Linked DNA regions of Homo sapiens: region 2 is linked to region 1. The links are contacts of gene promoters, found by promoter capture Hi-C in blood cells and fetal thymus (Javierre and others, 2016). All regions are on one chromosome and are shown on one strand. Each heading gives the region's core, a stretch centred on a gene start or on the middle of the fragment in contact. The rest is flanking DNA. Distances are from core to core; before and after follow the strand shown.

Region 1 (3,324 bases), core at 746-3,245:
GTCTAGCAGACTGTTCCTATAGCATCCTATAACCTGAAGACCACAACAGCCCTAGTTCTGTTTTGTAATTAAGAAAATTGGCCCAGGGAAATTAAGTGGTTCACCCAAGAAGTGACCGCGACAGGATTTCAACCTGAAGCTTCTAACTACACTACACCCCAGGAAGGAGAACACTAAGTATTTGTCGAATAAATTAACAAACCAGTGGTTCCTTTATTCATAGAAAAGGCAAGCCTGTGCCTTCCCTGTGAACCTCATTTCTATTAATAAAAAGGAAAAAGAGGAAGAATTCTTATTAAGTGCAGCTCCATATCAGACCATTTGTCTTACACCAGTGAGGTAAAAGCACCCCTCCATTTTTACAATGGAGATGCAAAAGACTCAGAGATTAAAGGTTATTTGTCCAAGGTCAAGCAGCTCCTAGAACTTTGCAATTAATGACGGTAACAATAATTTGCAGCTATATTTATTGCACCCCTTATGACAGGCACTGTTCCAACTGCTTTTACATGGTTTCTCTCATTGAATCTTCACAACTCTACATAAACTAGGGACTTATTTTGCAGACGAAGAAACTGAAGCACGGGATAGTTAAAAGGGCCTTCACAGCCAGCATCTAATCATTCGAATTTCAGGTCCAGAATTCGGTACATTCATACGCAATGAATGAACCAAACAACCTGGAAAGTGCGAGTAAAATCATCACAATTCTACCCCTAGAAATGGAGTCCTGGCCGGGCGCAGTGGCTCACGCCTGTAATCCTAGCACTTTGGGAGGCCGAGGTGGGCGGATCACTTCAGGTGAGGAGTTCGAAACCAGCTTGGCCAACATGGTAAAAACCCCATCTCTATTAAAAATACGAAAAAATTAGCCGCGTGGGCTGGCCGCGGTGGCTCATGCCTGTAATCCCAGCACTTTGGGAGGCCGAGGCCAGTGGATCACCTGAGATCAAGGTTCGAGACCAGCCAGGCCAACATGGTGAAACCCTGTCTCTACTAAAAATACAAAAATTAGCCGGGCAGGCGCCTGTAATCCCAGCTACTCGGGAGGCTGAGACAGGAGAATCGCTTGAACCTCGAAGGCGAAGGTTGAGGTGAGCCGAGACCGCGCCACTGCACTCCAGCCTGGGAGACAGTGAGACTCCGTCTCAAAAAAAAAAAAAGCCGTGTGAGCTGGCGGGCGCCTGTAATCTCAGCTACTCGGGAGGCTGAGACAGGAGAATCGCTTGAAGCCGGGAGGCTGAGGTTGCAGTGAGCCGAGATCGCGCCACTGCACTCCAGCCTCGGCTAAAAAAAAACAAAGAAGAAGAAATGGAGTCCTACGAGCGAGAGCTTCCGCAGCATTCTGTAGGACCAAAATAGGCGCACAGGTTCCCGAGCGTGCGCCGCCTGGCAGCGGAGGAGCTGGCAGAGGCGAGCCATAGAGCCAAGACACCCAGAACGGACTCGCCTCCCGCCCGCTCCCGGCGGCCTAGTCAGCAAGCTGCGGATCGGCGGCAAAGATGACATGGCGGTGCGCCAATCACCGAAGGCAAGAGAGACAGAAGGAACCAATAGTCGCCCGAGATGGCTCCTGGCGGAAGTCACGCCCCCAAACTGTCAAGCAAAGCGCCCGGTGGAAGGGGCCCAGGCCGGGGGGAGGGGGCTCCCGGCGGCCCGAGGGAGGGGAGGCCGGCCGGCGAGGACAGCGGAGCGCGAGGGGGCTGCCTACACTCGGCCGCGCTCGATCCTGCCCTGATCTAAACGCCGCAACCCCAAGCCCGGCCCCGGAGAAGAGTCTCAGGACTAAAAGGGCTGTTCCAGCCGTCCGTGCTGGCGCCTGGGGATCCAGGCCAGTTCCCGGTACCCGCCCATGCCCAGCCCGGCGGCCTAGGGCGTTACCTTGAGCTGAGAGCTGTCGGACACTGTTCACGAACTGCTCCAGGGCAGACGCCATGTTTTCCCCCGGGCGGCCCGAGCGGCGAAGGCAGCACGCGCGGGAAAAGGCTGCCGCTCTGGGAGGAGGGGCCGCGGCGATCCACCTGAGGTCCTCGCGAGCGGCGACGTCACTTCCGCTGGTTCAAGCACCGCGAGACTATACCTAGCTGCCCACCCGTTACTGTTTCCATGGAAACAGCCTGAATTCGCCGTAGCCGGAAATTAGTGTTCCATAGTCCCCTGCATCTTTATTCACTGCACTTCTGAAATCCCTCCGCAGGTTAAATGGGGATAGTGGGCAAAAGAAGGAAGGAAACTCATAATTAAGCAAGTATTTTCTGGTTCTGGATTTTGCTAGAGAGGCCCTGCGGTTTTCCACCTGGACAGATACTTCAATGAAGCACAACTTCGTTGCCACGTCTCCCGTGAGGTTTTCCCCGTGATATTAGACTCTGGAGCCAAGCAGCCTGGGTTCAACTGCCTTTTCTACCACTTAGTAGCTGTGTGACGTTGAGCGGGTCACTTGACTGTCGTGTGCATTGTTTTCCCCATCTGTAAAATCTTAGTGTCCTTAACCACGTAAAACACTTAGGACAGTGCATAGGACGTAGGGAGAACTATAGTTATTCATTCAAGGTGTACGTTGAATGAATCGATCCCTTCCCTGCAAAAAATAAATAAATAAGTAACACCACACACAGAAAGTGAATTGATTTTTCCCATCTGGGATTGATGTCTCCCTCCTCCGCTTGTCGCCTAAAGCACTTTGTTCTTCTCATGTTGCACTTCTACTCTGTTACAGAAATGTGTCTCTATAGTCCATGTGATATCTGTAAACCAAAAATAAAAGTCTAAGCCCCCCAACTGACTGGTGGACCCTATCTGAAGCCAAGGACATTCCAATTTATCCTGAAAAACTAGTTCAGGCCATGATGGGAAGTGGTAGTCAGACATGCCTCACAAACATCAACACAGAGACCTTAAGACTGGTAGACTCAAGACTGATAAGAAATATTTACAATCTATTCTGTCTGAATAGCAGGCTACCTGGAAGCCTCATCTGCATGATAAAACCTTGGTCTCCACAACCCCTTATAATCATAACCCAGATATTTCTTTCTATTTACTTCCAGGTCTTTAGATAATAACTCTTTCAACCAATTACCAATCAAAAAATCTTTAAGTCTACCTATAAGGTAGAAGCCCCCCACTGCCCCGAGTTAGCCCGTCTTTCCGATCCTAACCAACGTACATCTTACATGTATTGATCGATGACTCATGTCTCCCTAAAATGTATAAAACCAAACTGTACCCGCACCTTGGGCACATGTCCTGAGGAGCTCCTGAGGCCGTGTTATCATCGCATCCTTCACCTTGGCAATATAAACTTTCTCGATTGAGACTGGT
Region 2 (3,363 bases), core at 771-3,270, 140 kb before region 1:
GGGGCTTTCTAGGCCCCAGTGTTGGGCAGAGGAGCCCTCATCCTGGAAGTGGCCTGTTGGTGAGCCTTGAATCTCACCAAGATCCCACCACAATCGCTCAAGTGTGGTGGACGCCTGGCTTGCACTTACCAAGCTTTCCCTGGGTGTCCTGGAACTCCAGCAGCTTCCTTAGCTTCCTGCTCTCACAATGCCGCGGCCTCTGCTGCTCCCCTACCCCAGCGCCTGCCTCCGCTGCTGGTTCTAGCAGGCTGGCCCGGCACAAGCTTCTTTCCTGAGGAAGACACTTTGTGTCTAAGCACAGGGAGGAAGCTGAGCTGAGGAAGACACTTTGTGTCTAAGCGCAGGGAGGAAGCAGAGCCCGGGGCCCTCGCCCTCCTCTCTCCGGGGGTGAAGACGCCTTAGGCAGCCAGTTTTCCCTCGCACTCCCTGAGAAGCAGCTGGCCTCTTGGGGGAGGTGGGGTCTCAGGAATTGATCTTGTTTCCTCTCTTCCTTGTGGAGATAATTAGGCTTCCAGGCTTGGGAGCCCTTCACCCACTTCCTCTGGGTTCTTATCCTCTTGTCCAGAGCAGCAGTGACACCCTCCCCGCCAGGTAACTTAGGTGCCCCTGGGAGAACAGGCCCGGCCCTGTGAGCTGAGCCTCAGCTGGTGCGTCCCCCACCTCTGACCCCACCAGGGTGACTTCTTGCAGCTGGAGGACAATCATGGTCTCTCTCCCTCTTCAGTGATTACCTTGGGTTTTTGCTTCTTTAATTCTTTGGATAATTTTGGTTCACCATTATTTGATTTGAAAAAGCAGCGCTCTTCCATGTATTCATTTCCCAGCCTTGTTTTCTTTCAGGTCTTGCCTCTGCGCTCTCCTGCTGTGCCGCTGGGTGGCGCTGCGCCTCCTCCACCCGCTTCGCCCCCATCTAAGCTCCGTCTCCGGCCGTAGACAGCCTGAGGAGGCCGCCAGCCCTTTCACATGAAATCAGCCTGCTTTGTTTTTGTTTTAATTTGGTCTTTGATTCCTTTTACTGTTGGCAGAAACAATGTTAATTCCTGGGCCTCTTCCTTGCTAAATTTTGGGGTGGGGGGTGCACTGTGATCCATGAGGGATGCAATGAGAATGGAGGCTGCCTTCCGTGGTGGTGGTTGCCTTTTGATCATGTCTGTGGCTCAGGAGAGGCTGCCGGGTGCCAAGCTGTGTGAATGCCGAGTGGGTCAGCACCACAGAGCCTGCAGGGCCTCTAGCGCGGGGGCAGAGGGTAGGGGCAAGCGCAGGCCTGATGGGAGGGAGGGCCGTGGAGGGGTGCAGGCAGAGCTCGGGTCAGCTGAGCACGTGTCTAGACAACCTCGGTGCTGTGCAAGCCTGAGGGGAATCAGGCCCGGGCCAGGCCGGGCATGGGAGGAGTCGGCTCACTGCCACCTCACAGCTCACCTCACTGCCACCTCAGGGCCTCGTGTCCTCTCTTGCAGGAGGTCCCAGGTGATTGAAAAGTTTGAGGCCTTGGACATTGAGAAGGCAGAGCACATGGAGACCAATGCAGTGGGGCCCTCACCATCCAGCGACACACGCCAGGGCCGCAGCGAGAAGAGGGCGTTCCCTAGGAAGCGGGTGAGCTCCTGGGGCTGGGCAGCACCTCAGGGGTGGCTCGGGGGCGGGTCAGCATGCACCCCATGCGCCAAGTCCCCTCCACACAGGCCTGGGATGTGCTCCTGCCAGGCTTCTCTCCAACCACCTCCTCTGCATAGTGACTTCTTGAGAGCAGGCCTGTCTCCTGCAGCTTCATATCAGAGCCTTCTCCGTCTCTGCTGAAGGATATTCTCATGCATTTTAGATCCCAGATTTAATTAGGATCACTCTCTTCCTATCTGAGACAGCCCAGCAACAAGGCTGAATGTCACACCTTCCTAACTCTTTCTTTCAGTACAACTACACCCCTCGTTTCTCCACTCAGCCCAAGGTAGACTCGGCTTCTGAAATCCTCCTGGGCACCCGCCTGCTGCTTTTGTAGCCGGCCAAGTCTAAGCTCATCTTCTCCTGGCTTCTCTCTTGTTCACAAGGTGCCTAGTGCCTACTGTCTGGCCCACAGCTTGCCACCTGCCACCACAGAGCCCAGGGCTCTTCCTTCTGTGACCCAGAGAAGCTGGAGGATGGGGTGGGGCCAGGAAAGTGACAGTGACTGGGAATCCAAAAGAAAAGGCTGCTCTATCAACCAGGGCATCTCAGGACCCGGGTCCTGTCCTGGCCCTGCTGCAGACTTGCTATGGTGGCTAGGCAGATCACTGCCCCTCGCCAGGAGCAAGGCCCTGGCGGCTCTTGGAGGGGTGGACAGCACCAGCTCGTCCCTCACATGCCCACATTGCCCTGGGCTGCACTGACCAGCGGCTGCTCTCTGCCACAGGACTTCACCAATGAAGCCCCCCCAGCTCCTCTCCCAGACGCCTCGGCTTCCCCCCTGTCTCCACACCGAAGAGCCAAGTCACTGGACAGGAGGTCCACGGAGCCCTCCGTGACGGTGAGCCCAGGCGCCGCGTCCTCCGGAGGCCGTGCTCCTCTGCTTCTGGTCACTCTGAGGCGCTGTCTGTTTCTGTCTATGCGTCCATGCCAGCTGTCCCTCTGTGCACAGGCCCTCGTGTCCGTGAGCACCCCCACCCACCGACCCACAGGCCGTCGAACACAGATTCTGTTTCTTCCCTTTTCTGGTCCCAGCAGAACCAAGGGCTCCATGGCATCCTGAGCTCTGGGAGGAGGCCCTGCGGAGGAGGCCACCTCGGGCTAGGCAGACTCCCGACTCTAGGCGGCAGGGCTGCAGCAGGGACCCTCCGCTCCTCTGGCTTTGGGCATTGCTTTTTGTGGCACTTCGGAGGCAGAGGCCACGTCTTGCTGGAGCTTGTCTCGTTCTCCGTGTCATGCCTCAAGTGGAAGAGCAGGCCTTGCACCAGGTTCTCCATGGGCCTCAGAGCTATGACAACAGAGGTGCGGAAGGAGTGGTCAGGGTACAGGAGCAAGGCCAACTCAGCATGCTGACCCAGCTCCTACCCGCTCTGTCTTCAGCCTCCAGGGGAGCCTGGGGCCTGCTCACTGCCTCTTGTCTCCTCCTTGCTGCCTGCACAGCAGCTCACCATGGGCCTCCGGCCTGCCCCAGGGCTTGGGGGCTGCCAACCACAGATTGATGTGTAACATGGAGTGTGAGGAGGAGTAAGGTTTGGGTTTTTCCTTCAGTCTGGGTTTTGCTTCAGGTGTCTTGAACAAAACTCCTTGTTTCTCTGTTAACTTAGCTGGGAGCGCCTTCCCCAACAGAGAACACCAGCAGGGAACCCACCTGCATAGGCCTTGCCATTGGGGTCAGATTGCAGGCTTGGCTTCAATGGCACAACC

The links. The method cuts DNA at HindIII sites, captures the fragments that hold promoters and counts their contacts. A CHiCAGO score of 5 or more calls a contact.
Region 2: a contact is called between a fragment that was not itself captured here and the fragment with the promoter of COPS3 in region 1, in 1 of 17 cell types (naive CD4 T cells). The highest score is 6.8, in naive CD4 T cells.

What each region holds. Positions count from the first base shown.
Region 1 is chr17:17,279,251-17,282,574 of GRCh38, forward strand. COPS3 (COP9 signalosome subunit 3) reads right to left here and starts at 1,996. Exons shown (of 12, transcript NM_003653.4): 1 at 1,882-1,996. The coding sequence starts at 1,936. RefSeq lists enhancers at 1,384-1,443, 2,094-2,193 and a silencer at 1,634-1,873. The HindIII fragment of the contact is 7,073 bases long and covers 138-3,324 here.
Region 2 is chr17:17,141,170-17,144,532 of GRCh38, forward strand. MPRIP (myosin phosphatase Rho interacting protein) reads left to right here. Exons shown (of 24, transcript NM_001364716.4): 8 at 1,458-1,596; 9 at 2,387-2,500. Among named protein-coding and RNA genes, the nearest start is that of PLD6, 63 kb to the right of the region's middle. RefSeq lists enhancers at 1-91, 792-1,334, 1,335-1,876. The HindIII fragment of the contact is 3,518 bases long and covers 262-3,363 here.